Regions from separate parts of the Homo sapiens genome. Here all the other regions are linked to region 1. Evidence: promoter capture Hi-C in 16 types of primary human blood cells and fetal thymus (Javierre and others, 2016). All regions are on one chromosome and are shown on one strand. The core of a region is centred on a gene start or on the middle of the fragment in contact, and the rest is flanking DNA. Distances in the headings are between cores, read along the strand shown. Region 1 holds the start of IVL (involucrin). Region 2 overlaps SPRR2G (small proline rich protein 2G). Region 3 holds the start of LCE2C (late cornified envelope 2C). Region 4 holds the start of LCE4A (late cornified envelope 4A). Region 5 holds the start of SPRR2D (small proline rich protein 2D).

Region 1 (3,619 bases), core at 661-3,160:
CCTGCTGCTCTGGGAGCTCCAGCTGCCCCTCCTGCTGCTCTGGGAGCTCCAGCTGCCCCTCCTGCTGCTCTGGGAGCTCCAGCTGCCCCTCCTGCTGCTCTGGGAGCTCCAGCTGCCCCTCCTGCTGCTCCGGGTGCTTCAGCTGTCCCTCCTGCTGCTCTAGGTGCTTCAGGTGCCCCTCCTGCTGCTCTGGGAGCTCCAACAGTTGCTCTTTCTTCATTCCCAGTTGCTCATCTCTCTTGACTAGCTCTTGATCCAGTTGCTGGTCTAAGAGCTTCTTCTCTTCTTCCAGCTGTTTGTTTAGCTGCTGATCCCTTTGTGTTTTCTCCTGCTTAAGCTGCTGCTCTGGGTTTTCTGCTTTCTGATATTCCTCATGCTGTTCCCAGTGCTGTTGCTGCAGCTCCTGCTCCTGTGGCTCCTTCTGCTGTTGCTCACATTCTTGCTCAGGCAGTCCCTTTACAGCAGTCATGTGCTTTTCCTCTTGCTTTGATGGGACCTCCACTGGGAGCTCGACAGGCACCTTCTGGCATGGGGGAGGCAGTGGAGTTGGCTGTTTCATTTGCTCCTGATGGGTATTGACTGGAGGAGGAACAGTCTTGAGGAGCTCCTGACTGAGGGCAGGGGAGAGGGTCACTGGCAGTGTGTGTTGCTGGGACATCTTAGAAGCTACTGTCAACCTGAAAGACAGAAGAGGTCTGATGCACAGGCTGAAGGCAAAGGAAATAGATGAAACCTTGGGAATCTGCAGAAGTATCTGGTTTTTTAGCATCCCCTCTTCCCTTGGGCAGGGTACTGTTCTACCACCTCTGGACTATCATTTCCCAAAAGCAGCAGAGAGAGAAGGGTGGAAATGTGGAGGGGCAGAGAAAGGTCCTCCTAGGAGCCTCCTTGTTCCCAGGTGAGAGCCAACAAGGAGATCTGTCTGCAGGGCTGTTCTGCAAGGGTGGGTCAGGTGCCAGCTCACTGTCTGCTCTTGTCTAGTCCTTGTGTCCACCCTCATCGCTTCACTGACCAAGGAGCAGAGATGCGTTCTGGGATTATGTCACAGTGAGGAGTAAGGCCTTAGGGAATGAAATGTCTCTTGGAGAACACCAAGTCCTAGAAAACCAATAGGCCGTGCCAGAGAGGACCTAAGAGGTCATGGTGTGACCTCCAGACTGGAGCCACAGGACATGCTCTAGGCCTGAATCTCCCATTGGAATGCTGTGTGTTTCTGGGCATGTCACTTAGTCTCCTGGGATTTGGTTTTCCCCCCTGTAAAGCCAGCAGGTTGGCCTATTCAACCCCAGGGCTGCTTTCTCTCCTGACCTTCTGAGGTTTAGCTGCAGTCCTTGTGTCTGGGGTGGGGCTGCGGGAGCTGGAAGGTTGCTGAGAGTTGGAGGTTGTTCTTCCAAGTCTTATACTTCTAAGTTGAGTTTTCCTGTCCCAGCTCTGCCTAGGTTTCTCCAAATAGAAAGGTTTCCCCATTCTGCCATCCCTCTGTGCAGCATAGCCAAAAGGTAGAAGCTCTTCCCTGAACCTCTCCCTCCATAAAGAAGGCAAAATGATGGTCTGTCAAAACCCAAGAGGTTTAGGAAAGAAGTTGAATGCTATTCCCCTCCTCCCTTCCATAATTCTCTCTCACACACAAATCCAAAAATATGGTCACAAGAAAAGATGGGACATAGGATGATTACTCTCTGTTCTGCACTTCTGTGCCAAGGCACTTTTCTCTCAGTACTCTGACTCGAGTCCCCCTAGAATGAAAGTCCAGCTGAATCCAGCCCCAGAGTAATGCCCACCCCCACCCAGGCTGCCCACCCCCACCACATCGTATGCTGTTGGAGGTCCCGAGTCCCAACCCTGGTTCTACCATCCGACACTTACCAGACTCACAGTAAGGCTGAGGCAGAGGCTTTGGTGGAGTGCTGAGCTGAGCAGGAGTCAGGGCACTCTTTATATCATTCTGCAGCCTGGCCTCCCTCCAGGTTGAAGGTGATGGACAGGTTTCACCACTCTAGTTGGTCAACTTCCTCTAACCCCTTCCTGACTCACCACAGGCATCTTAAGCAGCAAACCCTTTAGGGCCCCATTTCCCAGGGACACACAGCTCCTGCCTGGCCAGAGGATTCTGGTAGCTCAACTATTCCTGTGATGCTTTTCTGACCTAGGCACAGGGAGCTGAGTGAGGCATCCTACTGTTTTGTGACCTTAGTCAAACTTCTGCTCTGAATCTCAATTTTTCCACTTTCAAAATGAGTTTGTTCTCATTATTAGGCCAAAAGATTCACTTTCAAGGGCATGAAATGGAAAGTTATGTGTCTTTCGGGGATGTCCAGGCTGGGTTATATGTTTGAAGATAGAGTCACTTCCCATGAAGGGGTGGTATTTCTGGGGTGTTCTCTTGGGCCACAAGCCCTTCCTCTCTCAGAATATATTTTTTAACTCCATCCTATGTGGAAATAAACTCTGTCTTTGGTGGAGGGAGTTTGACTTTAGGCCAAGTAGAGTCAAGTAGAAGGCTTCTAGGAGTCCTCTGCTGCTGCCACTTGCTGCCCAGCCTCTATGCCCGAGGCTGCAGTTAGAGAAGTTCTCAGGAATGCCATGCTCATAAGAACTCCAAAGCACGGCCCACTCTAGGCAAGGAAACAAGATTGAATCTACACAATATAAAAATAAGTATTGCTTTTTATAATGACAAACCAAACTACTTTCTTAAGTACTTTTTTAAATGCATGAAGGTATAAAGATCAGAATCAAATCATCCATTTCCTGTTGTAAATCATACTCTAGAAATAGCTTAAGAAATCTTTCAGAGTGGGGATTTGAGCACATCTCTCCCCCGTGCCAACAGTGCACCAGCACACTTGAAATAACATTCAAACTCACTGCCGTGGTTTAAAAGACCCTGGGTACCTGGCTTCTGCCTTCTTCTGGGGCCCCAATTCATGTCAATCTCTCCCTGAGAGGTATATTCTTACCTCACTGAGGGCCTTCGGTTCCTGAGATGAGCCCAGAGCTCTCCACCTGGGGGCTTGGCACCTGCTCTCCTTCTGCCCACCGGCCCCTCCCCAGGTCTCTGGTTCTTTTATGCCTTTCAGCTTCAGTGTCAATGTTGGGGTCTGTCAGAGATCCTTCTCTGTGTACCATATCTAAAGGATTGGTACTTAATTTCACTTATAACAATCTAGAGTAATTTATTTGCATTTGTTCACTTGCTTATTGTCTATCTTTCCCACTGGAAAATAAGCTAAGAGCAGCGTATACCTGGTATGTTTTCCACTATACCCCTAGAACCTATCAAAACTACTGCATATAATATGTGCTCTACAAGTATTCATTGAAGAACAGTGAATTTTACGACCCGAAAATAATGACTATTAAACATTTCAGTGTTGATCAATGTTTATATGTGTGTGTCTGTATGTGTGTGTAAAAACCAAACTGATTTATTTCTTCCCTTTCTTTTTAATGGTTGGCTAATAACTTATTATATGGACATCATTCATTTACACTCTCTTTTTTACAATCTAATCCAAAAAGAAGGAATTATAAAGACAATACTCAGTGGGGCTAATTTTGAGAAGTGTCCTGATTCCCCATAGTTTTCCTGACAGGCACATTTCTCTTAGCCCCAAGT
Region 2 (3,619 bases), core at 800-3,299, 240 kb before region 1:
ACATCTGTTCCAAATACATCTCTCTTGGAGTGCAATCTCCTTGGGTGATGGGTGCAAGTTTTTGCAATTCTCTTAAAAAACTCATGGCTCAGCACCACAGCCAGCTCATTAAAACTGGTAACTAGGGCCTCATGGAAGATAAGAGCACAGATTTGTTTGGTATTGGCTAGACTTTTAATATCTGAGTTTTTCTTCTTCAGATAGTGTTTGTATTCAGACAACATTTGTTGCTGTCTCATAGGCAATTTTATTTTCAGAAAATGGTAGAATGAGAGAACAGCCAGAAAGACGGAAGAACTGAGGGTAAGAGGTCCTAAAAGTGAAGTGTGAAGAAGGTTCACAAAGTCATAAAGACTGTATTAGGGATCAAAGTTGGTCCCTAGATACTGGAGATTTGATGTCCTAGCTAATTGCTCCACCAACAGGACTGTCTCTCTTATGAGCACTGTTTCGTATGTATCTTTCAGATTCTCTGAGACTGAGGAGAGATGTCTTACCAGCAGCAGCAGTGCAAGCAGCCCTGCCAGCCACCTCCTGTGTGCCCCACGCCAAAGTGCCCAGAGCCATGTCCACCCCCGAAGTGCCCTGAGCCTTACCTGCCTCCTCCTTGTCCACCTGAGCATTGCCCACCTCCACCATGCCAGGATAAATGCCCTCCTGTGCAACCATACCCACCCTGCCAGCAGAAGTATCCACCCAAGAGCAAGTAACATCACTAGAATTCATCAGGACCATGAAACAACAAGATCCAGTGGCTCTTCTTACTCCCAGGACTCCATCATCTTCCCTTCAGCTGTAGTGGGAGGCTGCATCTTCCCTAACCTCTGTCTGGCTTGAGCGTTGACAGAGAAAAGGCTTAGTTCTGAAAACCGATATGTTGTTGGAAGATGAGCAGCCAGATCACTGCCTAATCTCGCTTTGCTGTCTGTGATGTAGATGGTGGTTCCTATCCTGAGAGCAAGTGTGTTTATTCTTTTGCTTCTCCCCAATAAAGCACATGTTTCATGGTCAAGCCCACATTGCTTTTGTTTGCATTTCGTGTCTTTAACCTCTTCTGTTAACTACACCAAGTGAATGTTCCTTTTCATTCCTATTGAATTATTAGAATTATTAGGCTTTTCCATCACTGAATTCAGTGTTGCGTGCAATGTGTGTTTTGGATTCGGTACAACAAATAATTCTCTTTTATTGGTTTAAAACTCATTTTTACCCCTTCTAGCTTGTATGGCTGAAAAAATTACCTAAACTCTCTTAGCTTCAGTTTCATCATCTGTAAAAAGTAAGAGAGCATGTATTCAGCTGAGTGTACTCATAGCAATTGATTTATTCACAAATGTTTCCTAATTGTCTATCATGTGCCAGCCAGTCTTCTATGCACTGCTGATAGGGATAATGATGACCAAACAAAGTCCTTGCTCTTATAGAGTCTACAGTCTTAAGAGAGTTACATATCACCCCCACCCCCCGACCCCCACACACCTCCCACACACAGGACAAATTATAGTAATACATGGGCTATATTTAAAGAAAATTATTTAGAAAGACCCTTTGAAGTGACTTTTGGCTCAAAGACATGAATGAATAGAAGAGGGAGCCATGGGTATATCAGGGGTAGATTGTTCCTGTTGGAAGAAATGGCCAGTGCTAAAGAAATACAAAATAACATTAGCCGGGCGTGGTGGTGGGCGCCTGTAGTCCCAGCTACTCGGGAGGCTGAGGCAGGAGAATGGCGTGAATCCGAGAGGCGGGCTTGCAGTGAGCCGAGATCGTGCCACTGGACTCCAGCATGGGCGACAGAGCGAGACTCTGTCTCAAAAAAAAAAAAAAAAAAAAAAAAAAAAGAAATACAAAATAACAAAAAGGAAAATGGTGGTCAAGGAGAAATGTCTGCAAATGAGGTCAGAGAGGTTGGATCTCTAGGATACAGTCATGATTTCGATATATACTTGAAGTTTGACAGCCATCTTAGGATGGTCAAAGTCTTGAAATTTTATTGTACATAACTCAACAATTGTATATAATTACTTTTGCATAGCATTTCAACCAGAAGTACATAGGGTATTTCAAACATATTTTTTTAAAAGTTGAAAAGAACTGAGGAATTAATTAAAACTCTTTTGCTAAGAGGGACTGCCCAAATGAAAAGTAGGTCTACCTGTTTTCACATCTTAAAGGGAAATATATTTGATTAGTTTCATCAAATTGCAGCTAGCAGAATGCTTAGGGAATTTTGTTCTTGCTGTGCTCCAAGCCCCAACAGGAATGTTAGAAGGTAAAGTTTACACAAGGCAATACAGAATAACTCCAAGTTATTGTCTTAACAGTAAGCTGTTGAATAAAGCTCTGGCTTAATGTTGTTGACAGTTCCTCCTAACCCCCAGGCCACATTTTGTCTTTAAGAAAAACAAAAATAAAAAATCCTTTATTTTAGGCGAAATATAATCAACACATTCGGAAAGTTCATAAACTTTAGCTGTACAGGGCGAATAATTACAAGCTGAGCACTCATGCAACCAATGCCAAATTGAAGAAAAATGACATTACCAAACTTTCTAAAGACTCCACATTGCCTTATTCAATAACACTCTATACTTTCATCACTGGAAGTAAACACTCTGCTGACATTTAACATAATTACTTTCTTGCTTTTTATTTTATTTTTTAACCATTAATATAGAGGGATCTATATTAATAGATATAGTTAAGTTTTCCAGTTTTTGAATTGCATATAAATGGAACCATACAGTATGTCATTTTTTTGCCTGTCTCCTTTCAACCATCATTGTGTAATTTTTGCTTATTCATGATTGCATTTTAGCATATCATTGTATAAATACACAACACTTTTGTATCCTTATTTATTCTACTCTTGGTTGACATCGGGTTGTTCCCTATTTGGTATTGTTATGAATAGTGCCATCATGATGTTTTCTTCCTGCCTGTGGGTGCACAAGCTCACACATTTCTCTAGGATATACACCCAGAAGTATGTGCATCTTCAACTTTGGTAGGTGATGCCAAACTGTTTTCTAAAATGCTGTCCCAATTTAAATGCCTAGAGCTGTGTAGTAGATTTTATGCTTCCTTTCCCTCCTTCAGCTAATCAATCAATGTCACCCTTCATAGTTTACCTATCTGGTATGGGCATAATTATCTTTTATTGTACTTTGAATATGCATTTTATTAAATATTAATGTCTTTTAGAAGTTTTAAAAAATATGTTTATTAATCATTTTGACATACATTCTTGTGAAGTGCCTGCTAAAGGCTTTTACCCATTTCTATTGAGCTGTTTTTTTCTGACTACTTTTTATGAATTTTTAGTATATTTTGGATACTTAGCTTTAATGGTAATTTGCCTAACCCACTGTAACTAAGATTTTCTCCTGTTTTCCTCCAGAATTGCAGAATGTTTTATTTTTTATCTTAGTGATATATTTTGAATTAATTTTTGTATATGTGAAGTAAGAATCAAGATTCACTATTTCCCATATTAATATCCAATTGCTTGAGTACCATTTGCTGACAAGTTTCTTTTTTTTGCCCATTAAATTACCCTGACACCTTCATTGAAAACCAACTAACTATATAGATATAGATACATATCCATGTGGGTCTA
Region 3 (3,619 bases), core at 752-3,251, 230 kb after region 1:
ATTCTGAGGGTGGCTTGGCAAAAAAGATAAGTATTGAAGGAGGAAAGGTCTATTCTTTCATACAGCGTTTTGTATTCTTTGTATTCTTATGTTCCTTATATTCTTTGTATCTTCTAAGCAACACTTCCATGTTTTTTCACTTAATATCTCCATCACTCATCACTCCCCTGCCCAGCACGTGAGCCAAGTGGCAGGACAGCATCCTGGGACTCAGATCTAACACTGTGAGGAACTGAAGCCAGGTGTCCAAGGCAGCAAGTCAAAAGGCTGATCTTAACCAGACTCATGAAAAGAAGCTGAGTGACCATGGGCTGTACTTTACAGGAGGAAGGGTCTCAACATCTGTTTCAAGCATTTTATCCAACTATTGATTCTAAGGGCAGGAAAGTTTTGCTTCATAGGGATGTGTTCTTCTCCCTAGAGAAGAACAAGTCTGCAGAGCTTCCCAACCTTCCCAACGTCTGGATTACACAGAAAATTAGAACATGTGTCTGGCTTAGTGGAGAGAAAGGCAAAGCTACCATAGCCAGAGGTGACCCTCTTGGAGCTCCATTCACTCAGCATCTGGGGGAATCAGTTCCTCAGAGCAGCTTTTCATGTATCACCTACTCATGTCCTGTCCTAGCCTCATGAAGAAAATTACTCTGAGGCCCTGACCTTTGGAGGACATTTGAAATCTCAGAAGAGAAGAGAATGACCAAGACATTTAGTGAGTCAGAGATCAGAGCTTTATTATAACATGAGGTAAAGGAGGAAAAGAAGACTTGCAATTGGGGTGTTACATCAAGCACGAAGTTCTTCCAGGAAAGCCCCATGAGTCTTTGTGGTCTCTGCCAACCAATGAATGGAATGAGAGGAAGTGGAAAGAGTATCCATCAGGCCGTAGCAGGTTCTTGGCCATTCAGTCCCAAGAGCTCTTCTGTAGCCCAGGTCAGCAGCAGCCCCCAGAGCTGTGGCAGCAGCCAGAGCCCCCAGAAGGTTCACTCTCACAGCAGTCGGGGCTCTGGTGCCGGCGCCGGTGGAAGAGACGGGGCCTGTGGTGGCTCAGGGAGCAGCCACCAGCCCCAGAGCTGCAGCAGCCCCCAGAGCTGGGACCACAGCAGCTCCCAGAGCTGGGACCACAGCAAGAAGAGACTGCAGGGAAACATGGAGCTGGGCACTGTGGTGGGCATTTGGGGGGACACTTAGGTGGACATTTTGGGGTACACTTGGGAGGACACTTGGGAGGGGGCTGGCACTGCTGCTGGTTTTGCTGGCAAGACATGCTGGCAGGAGTTTAGTCAACCTGAAAGATAATAATGAAACTCTTTAAATATTTCAAACCAAGGATCATATTATACCTCTTCTAAAATCAATGCATGTGTAGAAGAAGAATGATATTTAGATAATACAATCACATCAGTAACCTGAAAGAAACAACTTGAATCTTTCCTCTAGATAAAAGTACGTAGATAAAAAATCAACAGAATGAGCTTCTTACTCTTCCTTTCAGGGGAAACTGCGATTGCTCTATCCTCACAAGCCCGAATAGAGTATTCACAGCTCCCTGAAGTACCTATTCCTTTAATACAAGCCCTAAGGACAAGCTGGGTGTTGCAGGACATACCAAGGGGTCCTCTGGAAAATATTTTGCAATGAAACCTCCAGATAAAAGAGCCTGGCTTGAAGTATTTGCCAGTTTCCATGGTGTAAATATGCCCAACACAGCAGTTTTGAAGTTACCAACATGAAGTCACTGAACACAGAATTGGAAAAGATGTGCACAGTTAGCTTTCCCCACCTATATGAGCTCCGGTAGGCCTCAGAGCCTCAACAGATTCGAGGCAGGCTGAGTCCCATTCCTGCTCAGTATGGCAGAACACAAGCACACAACTCTTTCTCCAGCCTACCTCCATCCTCCCCATCCCTCTGCCTTGCTCATACCCCTCTGGTATCCCAGGTTGCCACTCACCCTGGTCACACGCAGGAGCACAGACACGTCCCTGGGGAGTCAGAGCAGATGAGATGCTGAAGCTGGATGTGTCTTTTATAGGGCCCAGGCTTGGCTCTGGAAAGAGCAGGAGGTGGCTCTTGCACAACCAGGCACACGCTGGGTCATTCCTGACATTCTCCTGCCTCTTAGTCCCTGCAATCCAAAGAGGCCTCAGGAGCTTCCAGGACTCCTCTCTGGGGCTGCAGTCTAGAGAGGCTGTAGCCAGTCAGAGCCTCCACCAGGTGGGAACCCTAAAGAGTTAACTTAGGGTACCCAAGGGACCCACACCTGGACAAGATTCTGTTCCCTGCATTTTTTTAATGCATGTCCTCTGAGGAAACATCAGTTCTGAGCCACAGCTTTCCCTGACCTTGTGGAAATGTTCCATTATGACTCCCTCCACCCTGAGCAGTTTCTCTTCCATGTCCTGCTGTGGATCCAGCCATCCCAGAGGGCTTCTACAGCCTTGGCTTTTTCTAGGCATCCCTCCCTTGCCTAGGCTCTCAGCCCTTCCTCCTGGCCTCTGTGTTTCTGCTTTTCCTCCGACTCACCATGGCAAGCAGATTCGGTGGATTAAATCTGAGTTGATTCTGTCACCTAAAGCAAGGAGAATGATTGAGAATAAACAATTCCCTCTAAAATCTAAACATTTCCTTCAGTCAGAGGACTTGTATTGAATGTGCTACTGGAATCAGAAAACTTGCATATGATAACTGGGTAATCTCTGAAAGTTGCTGTAACAATTATCAATAATTGCTAGAGTATTACTATGATACTCACTGTGAGTATCAGTTCTCACATATAATGCCCATTATAAACCTATCAGTGAGATATACCTATCTCACTGAGCTGTTTGTAATATAAAGTGAGAAGCAAGAAAGAGCTAAGTATGACATTTTGTGCCTGATAGACCCTTAATAAATATATGTTTAATAGAAAAACTAATGCCATGTATTGGATACTTGCCCCGGTCTTATGTGTCATTAATTGCCCATATAGAGCCCTTACCCTCAGAGAGCTTAACTCCACCAGACACTTAGATTATTTGAAACCTGTCTTGGGAAGTAGACATCATTTCTTGGGGCTCCTATGCAGAGGGAACTCCTTTCCTACCAGGAAGTAGAGGGTCAGCCAGGAATCTAGTTATTCAGAGTTCTGATTCAGGGTTGCACTAGACAGAGTTACCCAGTCATTTATTCATTTAGTTTAAACAGATACATTGAGTGTGAACCTTGAAAACATTACACTACGTGAAAGAAGCCAGTCACAAAAGACTGCATATTGTATGATGTTATTTATATGAAATGTGTAGAGTAGGCAAATCTCTGGAAATAGAAAGGGGATGAGGCTTTAGCCAGTTACAGCCTCTCCCAGGCTGGACCCCTGAAGAGCTGACTCAGGGCATCCGAGGAACAAGAGCCTGGATGAGATTCTGTTCCCTGTATCTCCTTTTATGTTTATGCCTGTCCTCTGAGAAATATCAGTGGCTTCCAGGTGCTTTAGCGGGCTGGGAGATATTGAGAAGTTACTGCCAATGGATACAGGTTTTCTTTGTGAAGTAATGAAAATGTTCTAAAATTATGGTGGTGATTGTCCAACTCTGTGAATATACTGAAAACCATTGAATTTACACTTTAAACAAATGAA
Region 4 (3,619 bases), core at 337-2,836, 200 kb after region 1:
TTGATTTTTCTCTATTTCAGTAAAAGCTATAAATCTATCTTTCTATCTAGGAAAAGGATTGGGATTTAGGTAAAAGTGAAGAAAAGTGGAATAAAAACCACCATCAAACTGGGACTAGAAAATTACTTGAAAGTAAATTTACTGTTGCAAAGCACATCAGAAAATTTTTCAATAATCTGAGAAATATAAATATTGACATAAAGCTAAAATAATGCAAATCCAAGGCCTGAAGTTGATGAGACGCAAACCTGCATGTTTATTCAATTGATGGGGCTACAGAAAGGAAAGGCAAGAGAGTGAAGGAGGTAAAACACCAGGCTGCAATGGGTCCTTCGCCCACTAATTCCTTTGGTGCTGCTCCTGGTCCAGGTCAGCAACAGCCCCCTCCAGAGCAGCAGCCAGAACCCCCAGACTGCTGGCCACTGCCACTGCCATAGCAATTGGAGCTCTTGGGTCTGTGGCAGTGGGACCTATGGTGTCTGTGGTGGCTCAGGCAGCAGCCACCTCCCTCAGAGCTGCAGCAACCACAGCCCCCAGAGCTGGAGCCACAGCAGGAAGAGATTGGAGGTGGGCATGAGGATGCACACTTTGAGGGACATTTTGGGGGATACTTGGGGATAGGACACTTGGGAGGGGGCTGGCACTGCTGTTGGTTCTGCTGGCAGGACATCTTGGTGGGATTTCGATAAACCTGAATGACAAAATAGAAACATATACAGAAACTTAATATCAAGAGCCATTACATTTTTTTTTATTTTAAAATCCTCCCCCAAGGTGATGAAGAGGAATATCTAAAATATGGACATGTATAGAAACCTCTTTCAGACAAAGAGTATATCTTCATTACTTTTGTACCCCTAGAGCTTTCAAAAATTCTTAGTATTTGTTAGGTGGTTAATAAGTGACTTCTGAGCTAATAAAGCCAGCAAAATTTGAATGCCATCTCAAAGACATGTTAAATACATTGCAATTCTACCCACATGAATTTATCTAGAAATGGAATTCAGAAATTCGTAGAAAATCTGTTTAATAAATAATAATAAATTTGAGATCTGCACGGTTAGAGAAAAGCTTCCTTCAGAGCAATGGGCTTAGGACCAGCAGGCCAACCATTGGTAGGGATGTAGCAATCCCAGGTCATTCATCATCTTCCTGTCTGATCACAGGGATAATCCTTCCCAGGTTGGTTCCTGCTTTGTCCAGAGCCAACTACTACTTCTGGCCTTCTGGCCTTGTCCACCATGTCATCCTCCTCCTACTCCACGCTTCACTGTTCGACTTCCAGAATTACTCTCCATCTCCATCTTCATCCCGCTAGCGTCCCCCTCTGGATTCCTATAGAAACACTCACCGTGGGTTCAGACGCAGCAACAGATACGTCCCTTAGGAAGCAGAGCAGATGAGAAGCCAGCAGCAGGAACACACTTTGTATGGATCCTGGGGCTGGGCCTCGGATGAGCCATGCTAATGGCAGGAGCAGGACGTGGCTGTTGCACAAGTGTGGGGTCATGCCTGACATTCTCCTGCCTCCTGGTTTCATCTCTTCCTGAGCTGGATGATGAGCTTCCCAGATAGCCTCTTCGGCACTAGTGGGAGAGGGGGTGACTATATGAGACTTTCTGTAAATCAGACCCTTTTCCCAGGCTAAGGTCTCAATGTACAGCAAACAGAGGGGTTTAAGGCTATGGGTACTTACCTTTCAAGCCTCCCTCTGAACACGCTTTGCTCAGTCCCTCAGGAAGAACTTTGGCACCAAAGGCTCCAAGACTGCCCCACATTTAGCCCCTAACATATTCCAGCCAAATTTCAGCCAGAGGCTCTGGGCCTTTCCCAGGTCAGTCAATCCTGAGAGGCTGGTTTGGTGCCATAGGCCTCCTTACTCTTTTAGAGAGTATCTCCCATGCTTTTAGACCAGGCCAAGTCCCCAGTCCTAACTGTGGAGAGAGATGCCCCTCGGTCAGCCACTCTTCTCTTTAGAATTTCTCTTCTATGAACCCTTCAGCCTGGAATTCAAAGGCTATCATATTTGACTACTTCTATTTGGGTTACCAAGGAATGTGTCACCATCAAGGGGCCTTTTGAGTAGGAGTTTCTGAGTTTTTCTGTTGTGTGTTGTGTATGTGATTCTGCTGCATTTAAGTAGCTCATGAGCACAGATCAGAGACTTGAGACTTTTACCAATTCAGGAACCTTTTGTGGAAGTATCTGTCTGTCAACTACACACACACACACACACACAAGTTGCATTTATTGCAACCATTTTTTAAAAAAAGGACTGATTTTTTTTCTTCAACAAACATATAAGAAGATCATTATGAGGAAAATATTTTTCCCATCATAGAAAAAACTCTTCCCTTTTACCCATCAAAACACTCTAAACCAACAAGAAAAAGAAATTTGGTGTGTGTTGCTCTAATTCTCAAAAGGTTTATATAGGATACAACTCTTCATGCAACCCATTAAGATTGATTTATTTCTCCTTATGTATATCATATATGTTATACGTATATACACATATAATCACGAGGTACTTCTGGAAATACCTACTATGCAAAATAGATGTCTAACAATGACAAAAGTTAGCTGATATTAATGAACATGAAGACATTGATAATGATGACAAGGAAGATGACTAAACCCCCAGCCTATATTTCCTCTCTGTAAAGACAGAAATTACCTACTTTTATAGTAATTTCTGCTATTACTAACTCAGAAAATGAGTATTAGACAGCAGGAACGGAATTGTTGTGGAAGGCAGATTTTCTGGCAAGTATTATTGTAGGAATGTCCTCCCATTTTCCATCTCTCTCCCAATCCAGTGCCCCATGTTAATGGTGTTTCTGGCAAGCAAATCATCAGCTATAGAGGGATGTGGTAACAAGCAACAACCTACCACATTGAGCTCTTAATCTGTGACCAGCACTGCCTCAGTTATGTGAGAAATACAATGAATTAACCTTGTTCCTGTCCTCAGGACCTCAGAGTAGAACTGGAGAGAGAAACAGAAACACCTGAGAAGTTAGATAGTGATGCTGAACCTCAACACAAGAGAAACACGGTGTGATTAAAGGAAAATTTCAGGGTTGACACCAGTGGTCCTAGTAGGCAGTCCTAAAACAAAAGATGCCAGGACTCAACTGTAGACAAATTAATTCAGAATTTCTGGGAATAGGGCCCCAGCATTGGTGTTTTTTAAAAGGTCACAAGTTGAATGTGTTGCACAAACAGAGATGAAAGCTATTGGTGTAGCCCTACTCTGCACAATACAGTAGCCACTAACCACATGAGATGATAAAGCCCTTGAAATATAACTTGTCTGAATTGAGATGTGCCATAGCATGACACTGAGTTTGAAGACATAAAATTGTTTTAAATGTAAAATATCTCACTAATATTTTAGATTGATTACGTGCTGAAATGCAAAATTATGGATATACTAGCCTAAATAAAATATAGTATTAAAATTATTTTTACCTAAAAGACCTATAAATCAAAGAGGAAGTCATAAGAAAAACTAGAAAATAGTTTTATTTGAATAAAAATGAAAACACAGACCATCAAAGCTTGTGGGATGCAGCTAAAGCAGTGCTTCCATCACACTTAGAACAAAATCCATATC
Region 5 (3,619 bases), core at 705-3,204, 130 kb before region 1:
CCCTCTTCATGTTATGGCCATTCCTCATGTAGCTGGTCTGTGAGGAACTCTGAGTTTCCAGTTCTCCACGTCAACTTGTAAAGTCAGCCTGTCTGAGATGCTGGGGGCACTAGGTCTGCTGCCACTCTGGTGCCTGCACTGCTGTGATAAGCAGCCTGTTTGAGTGGGGTGTCCTAAGAAGGGGAGTCTCAGGTTGTGACCCAAACTGTGTTATCTCACACAGTGATCTCATTTGGCAGCGAATTCTTCAATTTTGCATGGCAGAAATTAGACATTTCTCTATGGATTTATGTTTTAGATGTGATGTGAGGCTCTTGGGGAGTAGTGGGTGATTTATTGAGTAAAGGACTTTTACTTTGGCTGGTGAAGTGCGTGGCATGTGTAATAGTCTATAGGAAGCATTTGGTGAGAACACCATTTGTAATCACCTGGCCTCAGGGTGCTGACATGATGGCTCTATTTCTGTAGTGTCCTGGCCAGTGGTGATCTTGGCTAAAAGCTCTTCCTTACTGACAGGAGCAACAGCTGTTCTGGGAACCTAACCTACTTAACTGAGGGATGTGATGCTGGCTTGATTCAACACTCTGCCCTTCCTGGAGCACAGTTGGTGACTGCTCCAGTGATTTTGAGTCTTTCCTCTTCCTCATTCTCCTTTCTTCTTATTCACTTATAAAACCATGTTCTTGGGAAGCTTCCCGATTAATGGTCCAGATAAGGAAGCAGTAGCAACATCACTTTAAATGTTTAATATACAGTACTTAGAAAGGCTCACTGATTGTAGGAAGCATTTAAAAAAGTTGTGAAAGGACAATCACTAAATGCATTGACAACATATGTGTTAAGTGAACAATATGTACCAAAATGGACAGATGACAGGTATACATTGGGTATGAGTTGATAATCTAGCAGTTTGTGGGACTAGAAGGTTTATGGAAAAGACAAAGGAAGAACATGCAAACAAATTAAAAAACACTGAGAAACATCTAAAACCTGTTTGGAAATAGAGAGGAAGAATACATATTGGATTACCCTTTGTTTGTATTTTCCCCTTGAGTTAAACTTTAAGTGCTCTTACCTTCCTCACTCTGCACACCTACTTCTAATTATTTACATATGATAATGTCTATGCAGCTTGTTCTCTATAGGATGTTCACAGGGAACCATATATGCATGGTTCCATACATAGATTTTGAGTCAATACTTGTAACTTTAGTTTCCTTCTCTCCATTACTTTTTATAAATAAAAAGGCTGTAGTACACATCCTTGATGGCACCAAGTAGCAAACGTGCTGTGGAGACTAGATCTCACTCTCAAATCTGTCCTGGGATGCAAGTGCCTCTACGAATGTGGTGCAGAAGCTACAAATGTGGTGCAGAAGACAGCTTCAAAGAGGAAAGGAATATAGGTAAAAATCTGAGGTTTTATCTGAGAAAAAGGTGGCAAAGAAAATTTCAGTCTTGAACAGGGTCAGCAGATAGCACAATGTGGTCAGCCTGCAAACCCAGAGGTAAGTATTATTGTCCCCTGTTTATAATCCCAGGGAGGAGAGGTGACATGCCTGTTGTCATGGAACTTAGCAAAGAAAAAGCTTAGCTCAGGCCTTTGTTAAGTCTCTCCTTCCTTCTAGCACATTGGCCAACTGTATGAGGAAAGTAGAGGTAGAGTTGGGTTCATGTACAACAATATGGCATTCAGCTAGAGTGGATCAGGACAGGAAGTTTTATGACTCAGGGGAGGTAAGATAGGAAGGGATCATTGTTCCCAATCAAGAAAGAGAGCCCTTGACAACCGGTTAGAGAATCCCTCCAATTATCTCTCTGACGAAAGTCACTGAAACTGAGATCTAAGGCAGGTTCTCTGTGACTCATGAGCACTTAACCCAGTGGGGAGATCCCAGAACAGGATATTTCCTAGTTTGAGAATGCCTCTCATGCCAGATATGGATACATTTGCATTTTACTTTGGACATTGCTGGACCAGCCCAGTTTTAGGCAGTTCCACTTCCCACTGGGTGGGGCAGAACGTCCTATAAAGAGGTTCCCTGCTGCACAACTCTTAAACTCCTGGTACTCTAGCACCGATCTGCTTTGGAGAACCTGGTGAGTGTGAGTCCTTGAGTTCCTCAGTTCTTTGTGACCTGAAATATTGAATTTAATCTGAAAACAGCAAGTTTGGTTGATACAATTCTGTAACCATGGGTTTGATTCTACTTAGTAGATGGAAATTTAGATTTAGAGTACAGTGATATGCTATTTTAGCTTGTTTCTTGTATACAGTTAGGTGTCCATACGGACAGAGAAGTTAATAGGAAAGCTTTGAATTGAAGAAGAAAAAAGAACAAAGTATTTTTTCCCCATGTTTTCCTGGTGTCTTTTTCAAAGGTTTGTGTCTTAACAGGTGCCAAGAGCCTGCAATCCTTCCCAAACAGCCCTTTGTTCTGTGCTCAAGTCAACCCACTGGGACTTTACTACAGATAATGATAAGAGAAATGGCTTGTGAGATTGCTCATGGTATCTGAACTTGTCACTGCCTTTCCTAAAGATGTTATTTTCACAGAAATAACATGCTTGGTTCATTACTACAGAGATATTTTCTTTGGAAAAATTGTATGAGAAAACACAAGATTTCCCAGGGCCAATGAAGCAATTTGCTAAAGTGGAAGGGAGAAACGAAGTAGTCTTGAAAAGGCAGTTAAGAGTTTAAATAATTTCTTGGAGATGGGGAAATAATATTTCATGGTATTACATAAGCATTAGCTTCTCTCTCTGGAGGAGTCCCTTCCCACAAACACTGTTGTATCATTTCTTTCAGATCCTGAGACTCCAGCAGGATGTCTTATCAACAGCAGCAGTGCAAGCAGCCCTGCCAGCCACCTCCTGTGTGCCCCACGCCAAAGTGCCCAGAGCCATGTCCACCCCCGAAGTGCCCTGAGCCCTGCCCATCACCAAAGTGTCCACAGCCCTGCCCACCTCAGCAGTGCCAGCAGAAATATCCTCCTGTGACACCTTCCCCACCCTGCCAGCCAAAGTGTCCACCCAAGAGCAAGTAACAGCTTCAGGATTCATCAGGAGCATGAGAGGATAAGGATAATTGGCTCACCTCGTTCCACAGCTCCACTTGCATCTTCTCACCAAAGCCTTCCATGGATGCACAGGGAGCTTCTTTCTCCTTAACCTGTGGCCTGCCTGTGATGATCTGTGACAGCAAAAGATTCCCTTTCTGAGGCTGCCATACTGCCACTGTCCAGGTGGAGCTAAGAAAAGGAAGTCCTCAGCTGTGCCAGCTCCCAGAGCTTCGGAAGAAAGAGCAGCAGCTCTCTCCCTGGGAACCATCAGACAATTCTGTTGATGTGTTCTGTGTCTGTCTGTCACCTGGTCATGAGCTTCTACCACCTTTGCAATTGTCATTTATCTTTCACTCCCTGAATAAAGTATCTATGCATATATATTTGTGAATGGATCTTTTGTTTCTTTTAGAATCTGCTTTATTAGTAATATTATATGATTATTTGGATTTTGTTCTACCTTTCTCTGATCCCCAGGACCAGGATTTCACAATTATTGTTATCTGAATTTTGGGCCATAACAATGATTATTTTTATATCATTTTAAACCCCTT

Evidence for each region. Contacts are between HindIII fragments. The CHiCAGO score rates a contact against its expected background, and 5 or more counts as called.
Region 2: a fragment that was not itself captured here is called in contact with the fragment with the promoter of IVL in region 1 in 1 of 17 cell types (M2 macrophages); the score reaches 5.6 in M2 macrophages.
Region 3: a contact is called between the fragment with the promoter of LCE2C here and the fragment with the promoter of IVL in region 1, in 16 of 17 cell types (naive CD8 T cells, activated CD4 T cells, total CD4 T cells and 13 more). The highest score is 16.0, in naive CD8 T cells.
Region 4: the fragment with the promoter of LCE4A here is called in contact with the fragment with the promoter of IVL in region 1 in 5 of 17 cell types (M1 macrophages, naive CD8 T cells, naive CD4 T cells and 2 more); the score reaches 8.6 in M1 macrophages.
Region 5: a contact is called between a fragment that was not itself captured here and the fragment with the promoter of IVL in region 1, in 1 of 17 cell types (naive CD4 T cells). The highest score is 5.1, in naive CD4 T cells.

The regions. Positions count from the first base shown.
Region 1 is chr1:152,906,837-152,910,455 of GRCh38, reverse strand. It overlaps IVL (involucrin), which reads right to left and starts at 1,910. Exons shown (of 2, transcript NM_005547.4): 1 at 1,867-1,910; 2 at 1-677. The coding sequence starts at 658. RefSeq lists silencers at 670-1,870, 2,243-2,295, promoters at 1,916-2,150, 1,870-2,809, 670-3,619, enhancers at 2,030-2,309, 3,228-3,619, 3,143-3,619 and a cis regulatory region at 2,064-2,560. The HindIII fragment of the contact is 6,184 bases long and covers 1-3,619 here.
Region 2 is chr1:153,146,980-153,150,598 of GRCh38, reverse strand. SPRR2G (small proline rich protein 2G) reads left to right here. Exons shown (of 2, transcript NM_001014291.4): 2 at 468-1,017. The coding sequence starts at 489. The coding sequence ends at 710. Among named protein-coding and RNA genes, the nearest start is that of SPRR2G, 2.1 kb to the left of the region's middle. The HindIII fragment of the contact is 4,559 bases long and covers 1-3,619 here.
Region 3 is chr1:152,673,661-152,677,279 of GRCh38, reverse strand. LCE2C (late cornified envelope 2C) reads right to left here and starts at 2,001. Exons shown (of 2, transcript NM_178429.5): 1 at 1,952-2,001; 2 at 711-1,285. The coding sequence starts at 1,264. The coding sequence ends at 932. The HindIII fragment of the contact is 8,836 bases long and covers 1-3,619 here.
Region 4 is chr1:152,706,127-152,709,745 of GRCh38, reverse strand. It overlaps LCE4A (late cornified envelope 4A), which reads right to left and starts at 1,586. Exons shown (of 2, transcript NM_001387222.1): 1 at 1,352-1,586; 2 at 312-691. The coding sequence starts at 670. The coding sequence ends at 371. The HindIII fragment of the contact is 2,492 bases long and covers 1,074-3,565 here.
Region 5 is chr1:153,039,559-153,043,177 of GRCh38, reverse strand. SPRR2D (small proline rich protein 2D) reads left to right here and starts at 2,058. Exons shown (of 2, transcript NM_006945.5): 1 at 2,058-2,100; 2 at 2,813-3,446. The coding sequence starts at 2,832. The coding sequence ends at 3,050. The HindIII fragment of the contact is 725 bases long and covers 1,592-2,316 here.